4 separate regions of the Homo sapiens genome follow, and regions 1, 2 and 3 are each linked to region 4. Evidence: promoter capture Hi-C in 16 types of primary human blood cells and fetal thymus (Javierre and others, 2016). All regions are on one chromosome and are shown on one strand. The core of a region is centred on a gene start or on the middle of the fragment in contact, and the rest is flanking DNA. Distances in the headings are between cores, read along the strand shown.

Evidence for each region. The method cuts DNA at HindIII sites, captures the fragments that hold promoters and counts their contacts. A CHiCAGO score of 5 or more calls a contact.
Region 1: a fragment that was not itself captured here is called in contact with the fragment with the promoter of ZNF516 in region 4 in 1 of 17 cell types (M0 macrophages); the score reaches 5.3 in M0 macrophages.
Region 2: a fragment that was not itself captured here is called in contact with the fragment with the promoter of ZNF516 in region 4 in 4 of 17 cell types (M1 macrophages, monocytes, M0 macrophages and 1 more); the score reaches 12.6 in M1 macrophages.
Region 3: a fragment that was not itself captured here is called in contact with the fragment with the promoter of ZNF516 in region 4 in 1 of 17 cell types (fetal thymus); the score reaches 5.6 in fetal thymus.

What each region holds. Positions count from the first base shown.
Region 1 is chr18:74,951,230-74,954,751 of GRCh38, forward strand. All of the region lies in intron 8 of ZNF407 (zinc finger protein 407), which reads left to right. Among named protein-coding and RNA genes, the nearest start is that of PTGR3, 260 kb to the right of the region's middle. The HindIII fragment of the contact is 3,539 bases long and covers 1-3,184 here.
Region 2 is chr18:74,587,809-74,591,388 of GRCh38, forward strand. No RefSeq gene overlaps it. Among named protein-coding and RNA genes, the nearest start is that of ZNF407-AS1, 8.2 kb to the right of the region's middle. The HindIII fragment of the contact is 1,934 bases long and covers 308-2,241 here.
Region 3 is chr18:74,605,327-74,608,554 of GRCh38, forward strand. The region is part of intron 1 of ZNF407 (zinc finger protein 407); the gene reads left to right. Among named protein-coding and RNA genes, the nearest start is that of ZNF407, 9.1 kb to the left of the region's middle. The HindIII fragment of the contact is 5,749 bases long and covers 1-3,228 here.
Region 4 is chr18:76,493,789-76,497,224 of GRCh38, forward strand. ZNF516 (zinc finger protein 516) reads right to left here and starts at 1,454. Exons shown (of 7, transcript NM_014643.4): 1 at 1,356-1,454. ZNF516-DT (ZNF516 divergent transcript) reads left to right here and starts at 1,551. Exons shown (of 2, transcript NR_164145.1): 1 at 1,551-1,998; 2 at 2,491-3,436. ZNF516-AS1 (ZNF516 antisense RNA 1) reads left to right here. Exons shown (of 2, transcript NR_136504.1): 2 at 1-130. RefSeq lists silencers at 484-573, 1,274-1,373, 1,504-1,563. The HindIII fragment of the contact is 7,170 bases long and covers 239-3,436 here.

The sequences.
Region 1 (3,522 bases), core at 165-2,664, 1.5 Mb before region 4:
ATGTTCACTGCACCAATTACTTGTAAACAGTGGAAATCCCCACAAGGCAATGAGAAGGGAAGGCAGGAGTAACAAAGGCTTGCCCTTGGTGTGGGGCCAAGCCCTTCACTTTCTCTCCTCCCTGTTCTTGGTTTCTTGACTCATTAAGTCAACATTGTCCCTCTGTTGATTTGCCTAAACTGTTTTGCACAGAGATCTTGTAGAAAATTGGCAAACTGCAGAACACTGAGCGTGAGTTCTCAGTACGTTCATGTTGACCCTTCTGCCTCTCACTGCCTCGTCTTCTCATTGATTGCATGCCTTTGACACACTGCTTTGCTGCTGCTTCCTTGATCATCATCATAGCATCCCTAGATTGCTTAACTACCAGAAAATAACCTTAAACATGGCATTTTTATTTCAAAATTATTTTATTTCCTCTGTTGTTGAGCTTCATATTTGCAGATTTATTCCCTCTTTGTATGTAGGTTTTAATCTAAATCATTAACTTTGATTCATTTTCATAGTCTGTGTGTTTTTTATGGGTATTAATTTTTAGAAATAACTTACTTTCTAAATGAAAAGTAAAATAAGATAATTTCTAAGATTATGATTTTTGGAATATTTAACAGATACACCAAAGTTAATTGGAGAATAAAACCATCATACAGAACAGGATCTGACAAAAAAAAAAACAGTAATTCTAGGAAACTTCTGATCGTACTTCATAGAGCAGATGAAAACATACTAAGTTAGAAATTAGAAAATACATACAAAGTAGTGATCCCTGGCACAGCTCTATGAAGTATTGCTAGAATAACTGCAAAGGTGTTGCAAGCAGTTTTCTCAGCTTCTGTCATTCAAAAGTAAGACCCCTGCCCCTTATTACTAATGAGGCATCAACAGTTATTGATCAGGAGCTTGGGAGGCAAGGAGAAGAAAATACTTGATTATTGCAAAGCAGTGACTAACTCATTAAAAATAAAAGGACTAGATAACTTAGCAGTGAATTTCCTCAAATTTATGATACTCTCTATGAACCTTTGGTAGCTAATGAGTATCTTGCAATTGGCCTGTGCTGGGCACTGTGCTCTATGCCATCCCTGATATTATCCCTTTAATCCCAACCACAGCCCCTGGTGCTGCGCTGTCATGCTCATGGAGAAGCACTTGGGCACAGGGAGTTTAGGAACTGGCCCAAGTTACCCACCTGTTTACTGCCAAATACTTGTCGAGCGCTTTCTGGGTAGCAGCCACTGTTCTAGATCCTGGAGACAGAGGCTAACCCTCAGGGAAAGATAGATGATAAGTAAATAAACTAACTACTGTGCATGGTAATGCCATGTTGGGAAAAGAGGCAGAAAGAGGAAGACAACCAGAGAGAATGGGAGCAGGAAGGGGCTGGACGATTGTGCATACAAGGTTAGGGAAAATCTCTCTTAAGAATAAGACTTTTAAAAAACAGTTTTATTGAGGCATAATTAACATAAAATAAATTGCACATATTTAAAGTGTACAGTGTGATGTGTTTTGACAGAAGTATAAACCCTTGAAACCATGGCCATAATTAAAATAATGAACACATCCCATTTCTCCCAGAAGTTGTGAGGAAATGGCAGATATCTGAATGAAGGGAAGGCCAGGGCCGTGAAAATGTGTTGGGAAGAGCACTGCCTGGAATGGTTGACGGAACACGAGGCCAACATGGACTTGGCAGAGCCGTTGGTGATGGAGCAGTGGGAGTGGAATGGAATATGGTCATTTGGGCTTGGAGTGAAGAGAGAAGTAAGGTAGACCACACAGGGCATGTAGAGATGTTTCTTCTGACTCTGACGGAAAGCCATAGAATGACGGTGAGCAAGAGAGGAGCCTACGTTGATTTGTTTTTTGCAAAAAGTCACTCTGGCTTCTAGGTGGAGAAAGGACTGCGTGGAAATGAGACGTCTTGGCAAGAGAGAGTGATCACTTGAATGAGGGTAGTGGAGGTGATGAAAATGGTTGGATTCAGGATGTCCTTGTCAAGGGGACATTGCTTGAGAGCTGGGGTCCGTCCAGGCTATCTGACTCCTCAGCCTGTGCTCTCGTCAGCTTGGCATGCCGCCTTCTGTGGTGGATAAAGACCATCAGTGCTGCAGGAGCAGCAACCAACGCCTTAATGTGTAGATTTTGTTATCTGTTTTTTTCTACTTTAATTTGGTGGCTTTGTACATCTGCCGTGTATGTCTGCTTACGTTGTATCATGGCCATCTTTTCTCTGCAGGCATCCTTAGTCGCCTTAACTTGGATTTTTTTAAACTTCCAGATTGCTAATTTCCCTTGTATTACATTTCATTCCTGATAGACATGCAGCTTCCTTGAGGAGGAGCTCCCTGCCTCTGTGTCCTGCCCCACACTCCGTAACGCTAGGCTTCGTTTAGAGAGGAGCTTTTCAACTCTTGTTAGATGTCCTAAATTGTACTTAATTGAAAATATGTAAATATAGTTGCATATAGAAATATAGAGGATTTGTTTCACTTCTCCTGACAATATGACCACAGCGTATACCACTACCTTTTACCAGCTGGCTGCAGACAGCCCCTTACTCCGATGTCATTGTGTAGACGGGAAATTTGTTTTTGATAGGCTTCACCACACCAGCAGGAATCTGGTCCATTAGGGAACTGTGGCTGGGCTGCTTTATTCTGGGAGAAAAGTTGAGACCCTAATGGGAGGCGAGAAAAAACAAAAGATAGGCTCAAAGTAAGGAGAAAAAGGGATAGTGTATGTTTTGTGTGTGTGCATGTGCGTGCACGTGGACACACACTTTTACATACCCACATAAATGTATTTTACACATATTTTAGTCATTGTGGTACCTCAATTGACTTAATTTCTATTGACTTTTCCAATATTAATATGTTCAATATTTTATAACAAAATTTAATGCTTTCTAAAGGGAAAGAGGCCAGTTTCAATATTAATGCCAATTAGAAAAGCATTTTTTGATCATTTGGCTCACTTAAGATAATCTCAAAAACCAACTTACCCAGAAACAGTTACTTGGGAGAAACAGACAAAATGTTACTTCTGAGTAATTATTTTCAAAATAGATACTTGTGTTACTGTGATCTCTTTGTATACTATTGTTAATATATATCTTTAATCTATATCATAAATGACTATGATTAAATAGCTATATGATTATGTCAATACAGATATTATATTAAGCTTCTCTCCTTCCACTTAGGATATAAAATAAAAAATGTTGGGCAAAGGAGAAAATAATATGAAAGTTTTCATTGTTGTTTATTAGGAAATCAGTCCTTTAAGAAAGACTGGCATTATAATCATGCAATAATTATTAATGTTTTAGTTAATGAAACTAGTCATAATTTTTTTTCAAGTATTATATAACATAATTTTATCATTTGTTACTAAGCAGTGAAGTTATATTGGATTAGATGTCACTGCTTTTATATAACCCACATATTTTTATATTTACATTTTAGATTATGAGTGTATGAAACCGCAACACACAGGGGAAGGGGTATTCCTAAACTATTG
Region 2 (3,580 bases), core at 25-2,524, 1.9 Mb before region 4:
GCTCTCAACTGGCGACATGGTCTGAGGATGAAGTCAGACATCCCAAGAAGGTCTACAAGTCCTGCTCAACCTGCTCTCTGCTTACTCTTCTGGCTTGCTCTGCCCTCACTAGATACACCCTGACAACCCCATCCTTCAAATCCTCCCAGTTTCGCAAACATCCAAGAGCTTCCCTGCCTCAGAGCCTTCTCAGAGTCTCTCCCTCCTCCAGCAACACCCTTACAACCCCCTTGGTGTCACTAATACCCCTCCCACCCACCCTCCACATTATTCTTCAAATCTCAGCTTAGTCGTAATTTTTCAGGGAAGCTTTTTCTTATTCCTCATGAGTAAGTGAGGTGTCCCTATTATGCTACCATAGTCTCCATAGTTCCTTTGTCGCATTTATTATCATTGCCATTAAATACTTAGTCAAGTACCACATACTGACAATTTGGCCAACAACAAACATATATGACAGTGGTCCCATAAGATTACAATACCATATTATTACTGTACCTTTTTCTATGTTTACCTACATAGATACTTACTACTGTGTTGCAACTGCCTACAGTATTCAGTACAGTAACACACTGCACAGGTTTATAGCCTAGGAACAATAGGCCACACCATGCTGCCTAGGCGTGTAGTAGGCTATGCCATCTAGGCTTGTGTGGGTACACTCTAGGGTGGCTGAAGATGTCCAGACACGCATTTCTCAGTATCCCTGTTAAGTGATGCATGATTGTATTTCTACAATTTGAAAACTGCCAGCTCTCCTGCTAGACTGTAACATCTTTACAGGCAGAGATTGTCTGTTTTGTCTATCCTGATGTCTTGAAGGTTCCAGGCATACTGTATGTCATTAGGAAACATTTAAGTGCTGAAATGAATGATTTCAACATTTGTATCATCCATTCTCATGCTGCAATGCACACTCATGATTTCTGTGCATCTCTCTCCCTCCTATTAAACTTCACGCTGTATAATATTAGCGACCATATCCTACTAATCTCTGTACTTCAGGCATCCAGTGGGGTGTTGCTACACACATTAGATAATCAGTATGATTGCTAAAATCTTCCTCTTGACTTTGCAGCAGCGATTTTGGGGGTCTTCCCTACCAGGTGTGCTATACCCTTCCTGGACTTCTCTCATCTTTATACTCTCCACTTCACCTTGTTCCTAGTTTGAAACCTTCTTGGGAGCAGCTAGTACTGGGGAGAAGCACAGAAAACAAGCCATGCAGAGGTGTCAATGGCTAATAACTGTTCGATGTGTTAGGCTTCCCAGCAGTGCTTGTATCTTACCAGGGGCCACACCTTCATTCAGAGGCCACAAACTGGAAGCCCGGGAGCCCTGCACTGGCTCCCTCACCCCCGCTGATGTGGCTTTCACGGTGTCCTAAGCACTTTTGAATGGGAAGCTGACATTGCAAAACTGGAAGATTTCACTTTCACACACACACACACGATTCCTCTTGAGCAATCAGAAGACAGAGTGAGATGACACTGCTCTGCCATTCCTGCAGGTGATGAGAAGCTAAGCTGAGGAGAGCACGAAGCCCAGCATCTGACCATTTAGACATGCTCAACAAAGTTCTTAGAAGAAGCAGAGGAAGGAGAAAGCTCACAAAAGAAAACAAATGCTATTTTATCTGACTTCTCACTTCTACGGATAGTTGTTTTCACTTAAAAACAAATCCCCAAACTGTTTCATGATAGGGCCAAGTGACTTTTAAACACAATCTAGTTTAGTAGATAGTATACTATACTATTTTAAGGGCCAGGCGTGGTGGATCCTGCCTGTAATCCTAGCACTTCGGGAGGCAGAGGCAGGAGGATCCCAGGAGTTTTGAGACCAGCCTGGGCAACATGGGGAGATCCTGTCTCTTAAAAAAAAAAAAAGTGTACTATACTATTTTAAATGTCTACTTTTAAATGAATTCAGTGTTATCTGTTATTTTTAATGTTATTTTTCAGATCAAGTTTGAATATTAATTGTACATGTAATGGCTAAAAAATTAAATCATGATTTGAGATCTTGATTATACAAAACACTTGTTTCTATCTTAATGTACGATGGTTAGACCTAGCATAACTATGTTAACGATCTGTAATACTACTGCCTTTCATAACGAAGAAAAACTTAAACCAAGTCCTAACATTAGCACATATTCCTTCTGCTCTTCCACTGACCAACTATGTAACATCTACATTCTGTATTGCAGAGCACTTATCTTCCTCTTTACCATGTTGAGAAAGCTTTCTTCTTTAGGAAGTAAGTTCTTGTAAGGCAGAGGTTGGGTTGGATATGTTCTATACTTTGCTCAGCTCCCCAAAGCCCTAATCAATTGATAAAATACAAAGACAAGAATGCAGGAGATTTTCTGAAGCAACAAAATGATGCATTCTTTTTAATTCCTAGCATGATGTAGAAGAGAAGTGATGGCAGGTGTAATAATTTCTTTTCTTTTTCTTTCTTTCTTTCTTTTTTTTTTTTTGAGATGGAATTTCACTCTTGTTGCCCAGGCTGGAGTGCAATGGCGTGATCTCGGTTCACTTCAGCCTCCGCCTCCCAGGTTCAAGCAATTCTCCTGGCTCAGCCTCCCAAGTAGCTGGGATTACAGGCGCCTGCCACCACACCCAGCTAATTTTTTTGTATTTTTAGTAGAGATGGGGTTTTACCATGTTGGCCAGGCTGGTTTCGAACTCCTGACCTCAAGTGGAGGTCACCCATCTCAGCCTCCCAAAGTGCTGGAATTACAGGCTTGAGCTACCATGCCTGGCAAGTATAATTTCTTAACAGTTATGATAAGTAAACGCTTTGGAGCTATTTTAGTTTGGATAGAATTGAAAAAAATGTCATTATGTGGACAAATTTTATTTAAAAACATTATTCTAGTGTAATTCCTTAGGCAGAATGAAAAAAGATGTCAGATAAATTATGCCTTTGACTATAACAGAAAATCTGAAGCTTTAAATCATCTCACCTCCCACACTGAAATTCACCAAAACAGCATTCGAGAAGAACTTAGATTTAAAATTCTAGTGTGGGTGGTTAAGTGTTCATAGCATATTCTTATTGCCATTGTAAGTAGGCATTTGAATGGAATGACAAAAAATGTTAATTTAAAGGAAATGAAACTTTAAATGACACTTAGTCATCAAAAATGACTAGTCACCAAAAATGACCAATGCTTCCTTCAAATTTTAAATAATTATAACCAAATAAAGGAAGCCATCTATAGTTTATTTAAAATCCCACTTTCAACCCCAGAAGGCAGAGTTCAGGGATACTTTAGCAGGTGAAGTAAAGTAAGGGGAGGCGGCTCTGAAAAGGAGAGATAACAGAGAAAAAGCAACAAATTCAGCATGTCTCCTGTAACATTTTTAGCTTCAGATGGGTGAGAAATGTAGTGAAAGGGAAACTTGAAATTAGTTAGCCTAAAGCAGAACTCCTGAGGAAGAGGATCACTTGGGAATGAGAGTATATACCATAAGCTATCATTCACTGCTCTTGGCCTTGGAAGAAAAGATTCTGGTTTACATTCTTGGCTGAAGAGGCAACATAATATAGCACAGTGGTTCCCAAACTTTCC
Region 3 (3,228 bases), core at 621-3,120, 1.9 Mb before region 4:
AGTCTCTTCATCTCTCTGAGCCTCAGTAACTTCACTATGAAATGCGTATTATCTTGTAGCTTTTGTGTGAGTGCTAATTGGTGGAATGTGGATAAGTCTTCATCCAGGAGCTGACAAAGCCAGCCCTCACTCTGTTATAGCTGTTATCCAGCAGTGGTCAGAACAGTACTGCCCATGCCATGAATTAAGCACATAGCATAATACGGAGTTTGAAAAAAATAAAAAATTAAAAAATCAAAAAATCATAGGAAGTTTGTTTCCTCATACATAGCAGTTAAGGTTTTCTGTCCAGCACAGCAGTTGTTACCCTGAATCGTCAAGAAAATATGAAATTATATTCTATATACATGTTAAGAAAGTAGGGAATTATATAACTTTTTATAGGATTTCTATGAAAACCACATTTTTTTAAACTTAAAAAATTAACTTTATTATGAACCCAGTAAGATATAATTGTGGGACACACATTGGTATACTAGAAAGGTACGTCATTAACTAGCCAAACCAGCAAAAACCCAGCCCACGTCTGTGTGTGTTAGTGTTGGACTAGTGTGACAAGCAAGGAGATTCTAGTTCCTGGACCGTCGGTGGAGACTGCGGTCCTTGGGTTCTTCATCAGAGCTTTTCCTGACTTCCTAAGCCCGATGAAATTACCTGCAGAATAATATGTTTCTGTGAACTTTTGGAGAGGAAAGAGGCCATGGTTTCACGCCAAAGCGCCCTAACCCTTCAGATTGTCAGGGATCACTAGCGGCGGGCCTGGGCCTGGGCTTGATGTGGACATGAAGAGCTTTTCCAGAAAATAAATGAGAGCAGTTTAAGGAAACAGGTGAAAAACTTCTGGGAGATCATTTTTGTATTTAATAGCTACATGGTGATCTTAAAAATAAAATTTGGAAATCTGCTATGTGAAAAAAATGCAGCAATTGATTTGTAATGAGTTTCAGGTTGAAGCTCATCATGTGTGTAATGCTGAATTCTATCTGGAAAGGTGCTTTTTAGAACTATTATGAAGAAAATCTGGAAAGAACCAGTTTCTTATGACATAATGGAGATACCTACATTTATATATTTTTCAAAAAATATATTTTAAATATATTTTGAGTAGATACGGGGTCTTGCCCAGGCTGATCTCGAGCTCCTGGACTCAAGCAATGTCTCCTGCCTCAGCCTCCCAAAGTGCTGGGATTATAGGTGTGAGCCACTGCACCCAGCCTAGATCTAAACATGTAAAAATTCTTTGATTTTCATACTTGTTTTATTTCTTGTGATGTCATCACACATATTCTTTATGTGACGACACAGAGCACAGTCCTGAACTGTGGTGGAGTTTATTATGTCGGCACACCTGAGGAGACATTTGAGTGTCAGTTTTCTTGGAATTTTTGGAATTATTTCAAAGTAGACTTGATATAGAATTAAATAGGAGAAATGGTTAAATTAGAGTTTAGATGGCGTTAGCTAAAGCAAAGTAAATGCAATTTTATTTAAAATAGAAGAAATAATTTTAGATATATCCGGTGTAATTCAGAGACTAGTTGATGAGGAAATTTTACTTATTTCACTTTGATGAAAGAGAGAAACATCTGGTGAAATACTAGGGGTGGTCTTTTCACTTTCAGGCCTTAGAGGAATGACTGCTACCGTAGGGTTATCACCTTTTAGAGGGAATGAGGATTGTGGCAACCCTATTCCGACTCCTCATCGTCTACTAGGAAAGCTGTGCCCTACAGGAGGCAGGTGTTTCGTCAGTCTCAGAGATTAGTTGTAGAACAAGGATTAGAAGCAGGCCTCTTGATTCATGGCTGGTCTTTTTGCTCCTCCATTGGTGGTTCTCAATCCTAATGTGTATCGGAGTCACCCAGAGGGTTTGGGCATCAACCAGAAACTGGCTCAGCAGGCCAGGGCTGGGGCTCAAGAATCTGCATTTCTCACAGGTTCCCGGGGTGACTTTGCAGCTGCCAGTCCTGAGACCACACTTCTGTAGCCTCAGCATCACCTGATGTGGCGTTGATCTCTCAGGCCGCTTGTAAGAGGAGATTAAGTAAACCTTCCCAGGTTTATACCAGACTAACCTTTTCCCTAGTACTCGGATAATCTAGTTCTTTAATTTTATGTTAGAAAAAAGAAATGCACATAGTGATTAGATGGGGGAAAAAAAAAAAGAAATGGAGTATTTCTCACAGAGTCACTGTGGCATTTTCAGTCGTAAATTTGGAGCTAATTCTGTTTGTCACGACCACTGGCCATTGACGGGGCTGGGTTTGTGCTGTGAGGCCCAGTCTTAGCAACGTTTTCTGTGAAAGGGTGTCCAGATTGATTGCTAGAGTGTATAGGAGTGAAAAATTAGTTCTGGTTTTGTGACTCTGTACTTTTCTTTGTTATTTTGTGTACTTAAATAATCCCTTCTTATATATAAAAATCTCATCAGGCCCTAGCACACTTACATGCACATAGTAGATGACAAATAAATGAGTTGAAATGGATTAAAAGAGTAAGGGGGAAATAACATAGGTCATTTATCTGGAAAGACTTCAGTGCCCTGGAGAGTTACTCTGTTCTCTAGAGTATCCCAATCACAGGCTCTTCCTGAACAATTGTAATTTATTTATTCCAGCTTAATCCTTATTTGTAGTTATTGAACATTTTTAGCACAGAAGTTAGAGATAGCATATTTTTATGTTAGAGTCAATAATCCCTCCCTTTTGTCTTTTTATCTTTCATCTGAAATGACTTTTTAAAACTTTCTACTTTGAAATAATTTTAGAAAAAAGAATTGCAAAAATAGTCTAGAAAGTTCCTATGTATATACCTTTTGGCCAGCATCTCCTGTTGTTCTCATGTATCCATAATACAATCATTGAAACCAGGCAATTGGTAACAATTAATCTAAAACATTTATTTGAATTTAACCAATGGTTCCATTGATATCCTTTTTTTCTGGTCCAGGATCCAACCCAGTATCCCACATTGTATTTTGTTATGTCTCCTTGGTCTCTCCAGTCTGTGATAGTGTTCTTTTAGATTTCTTTTTTTTTTGGAAACAGAGTCTTGCTCTGTCACTCAGGCTGGAGTGCAGTGGCTCATCTCGGCTCACTGCAGTTTCCGCCTCCTGGTTCAAGCGATTCTTCTGCCTCGGCCTCCTGAGTTGCTGGGATTACAGGAGTGCACCACCACATCCGGCTAATTTTTGTGTTTTTGGTAGATACGTGGTTTCTCCATGTTGGC
Region 4 (3,436 bases), core at 204-2,703:
TCTTATTTGCATTTCAAATTCCACAGGTTACACCAGTCGCCTTTTCAAAAAATGTAAACCAACAATGCAGCAGCAAATGGCTTTTTGTGCATCTGGATTAAATAAAGCACAGAATGAATATATTTAAAAAGAGGGCTGCGCAAGTTGATCTTTGCACACCCGGAGACCCGGTGACTCTTTATCAGCGGAATGAGTAAGACACACACACAGCCCCCAGAGCTCCCGGTCTGCTGCGGGAAGCTTATTAACGCTGATAATAGATGAGGCTGACTTACAGACCCACATTTTTCGGGTAAAAGGCTGGTTCCCTCTGGTCCCTAATTGCGGGGGTCCACTGGCTTTCCTCACCACACACATAAACTGCTGCTTTTAAATACCCCACTCGGCTGCCATTTAACAAACTTATTCATACAAAGTTTCGTTAAAACTTGAGGCGGTTTAATCTAAATACTGATCGTAACTATTCAGTCTGTTAGTTCTCCCTGGAAATGGCAGCGGAGGCGCCTCCCCCCACCTCCCGCCCAACCACACACACCCCACCGCATTCTTCCTTCATACACCCGGGTTCATCTCGCCACCGAGGCCTCCCCCACCCGCACCCGGCGGGGCGCAGCTCCGAGGAGTCCCTGCCCACCCCTCTCCGAGTCGGTGCCAGACCCTCGCCCCCACCCCCACCCCCGCCCGAACTTCCCTTCCAGGACCTCTCACTTCTTTAACGTTAGGGTCACTTAGAAGCTCCCAGCAGACTGGCAAGCAGCCGGGGAGGGGGCCGTAAAAAACAAGGCCACCCCCACCTCCACGCAAACACGTCCCCTAGGCAGCAGCGCGCGGTGCCCACAGGCATCGATCCCATCCGCCAAACCCTTAATAATTGAAGCGGCTCCTCGGGCCCGCAGCCCCATCACCCACCTTCATTAGCCGGAGCGTTTTACTTTAAAGTAAGGCAATTTGCTCTTTGTCTCCTAATGGATGGAGAGCGCATCCGAGCTCCCCTCCTCCCGCGTCGCCTTTGACAAAGTGTACAAAGCCAGAGCCTCTTCCGCGCTCCCACCCCGGCCCCCACCCCGCCCCTCCACTGCGGTAAAAACCACCTCCCGGGCGCTCGCCCCGCCGCCCGAAGTTGCATCTTCCCCTATCCTGGAATTGACGAGCAGAGCAACTACCCACCGGGAAAGCCAAGTAGCCCTCCCCGCGCCCGGGGGGCCCCTCCCCGGCGCACCCCCCTCCCCAGCGCCTCCCCCCCTACCCCCAGCGGCGCACACCAGAGTACGGGGCACGTCGGGGCTCCGGGCCCCGCGCCCACCGCCCGCCCGCGGCCCCTGCGGCGCAGCCCTCCCCCCGCCCGCGGCCCCTACCTTGGCAGGGAGGCGGCGGGCCTGGGGAGGAGGACGCGCACGCCCCGCGCATCTGAAGGTGAAGCCGAGCGCCCGCGGCGCGGAGCCGAGCGCTGCACTAGACCGACCGCGCCAGCTGCGCCCGGGCGCGGGGGACGCGCGAGGGCGCGCGGGGCCCGCCACGCGCCCGGCCCCCTCCTCGCGCCGCCCGCGCGCGCCCCGGACGCGTCCGCCCCGCGGGGGCCCCGGCGCGAGCCGGGCTCGGGGGGCTGCGCGGCACGGGGAGGGGGCCGGGCGCTCACGGCCCGGCGCAGGCCGGAGGCTTCCCCCAGCCTGGAAATGGTCTGCCCTGTAGGAAACGCACACTCCACTATTGTCTCATCAGCACAAAGTTCTGCCACACTGAGGGGACAGTCTGGAGGCTTGCAGTGACTCAGACACAGCCAATTCCTCCCCTAATAGCACTGAATCACGGTTCCAGCGGCCAGTGGTCGCCCCTCGTCAAGGTCTAAGGCTGCTGCAGCCCCGGCTCCCGGAGGCCGTTTCCGCGCGCACACGCGCATCCATACGTACAGACGTGCTCGGGATGCGGGTCCCGCCGGCGGGTACCTGGGCACTGCGCCCCATCTGGACTGAAATGGGGACACCCCTTCGGGGGTCCCAGGTGCGTGTGCATTACACACGGCGTAGCGTGTGCGTGTCACTCAACTTCCTGGTAAATGCCTCTGGGGGTGTTCAGATGCAGGATCAATACATTAAGTCCTGAATCAAGGGTCACAGAGGTCCCGCTGGAAAGACTTCAAACAGCGGCTCTGCCACCCGGCCATTTAAAAATGAAGGGGTTGTTTACCGGTAGCCTCGAAAGTTCAACTCTTATTTTTCTGTTCTTAAAACTTCATTTCTTCACCTCACCTACTCCCCACGAGCAGTAGTTAGTTGTAATAAGTTGAGTCTGGGACTAGAAATCCTAATTTGACTCCAAAACGCTCTCCTGTTACAGGGCAGGGATGGCCGGGGTGGGGGAGGGGAGGGCGGGCGCGCGGGGGCGGGGGAGGGGCGGGTCGGAGCTAGCGAGGGCGAGCGCCCCTTCACGGCCGGTGACGTAGACCCGGGGAGCTGCGGCCTGCGGAGGGGTAACACTATCTTCTCCCACCAGGCTCCTGGCCGTATTGTTCTCCTTCTCCTCGTGATAACTCCGCAGTGGAGGTGGATTCCGTCCAAGACGCCCAACGTGGCTCCGCGTAGCAATCAGCGCTGCAATCCTGGCGGTTACCTCAGCGGCGGCGTCTCTCTCTGCGCCTCACACTCGCAGCCCGCGGCCCTCCCCAACTTAGGGCGTTTACAAAAGAAACTACTCCAGACGCGCTGCAAAGGGAGGCGCATGTGCCCGAAAGCTGGCGATCAGACGGGGGGGGCATTCTGCATGTGTGATGTTTCTGGGGGCGGTGGGGAGTGTGTGTCGGGGTCGGGGGGCGGGGGGGAGTCAGGCAGAAAGACAGGGACAACCTCCGCTATGAAGGATCCGCGAGTCCTCAAATGTAAGCTCCGTGTGACTAACGACCTGCACTGATTTGGAGAGCGGGCATGTTAAAGGTCACGGACAATTGTTGCTGGCTTCAGCATGAATGCCTAAGTGGGATGTATTCTTCAGCAATCACGTTTAAGTCTGATTCACCGAAAAGTATTGACGTGCCCACCATTCATTTCAGTACACTGTGAAAATGCACAAAGAAAGTATCCCCAAATTCAGTTAATTACAAAGCCGTAAATGTCCTTGTATACACATATTATTACATACATGTAGGTAACAACAAAGATTAAAATTTGAAGACACTTTAATAGCTTTTTGGTAGGATTTTGGAATGAATATCAGTCCTGTAAACCTACGTTCATCTGCATTCTTGGGTCTATTTTAAAGTACAAACTTGCGCTAACAATTTCCATGTGTTGAAAATGGACAAGGTAGATCATTGAATGGTGATCAAGACTTCCAAACCCCTCCACATAAAACTGTTCATGACTTGCTTCCTTTTTCTAGCCGGTTTAGGGCCCTGTCTTAAGTCACCCACATGTGATTTCACTCAGGGCATTGTCTGTCTACA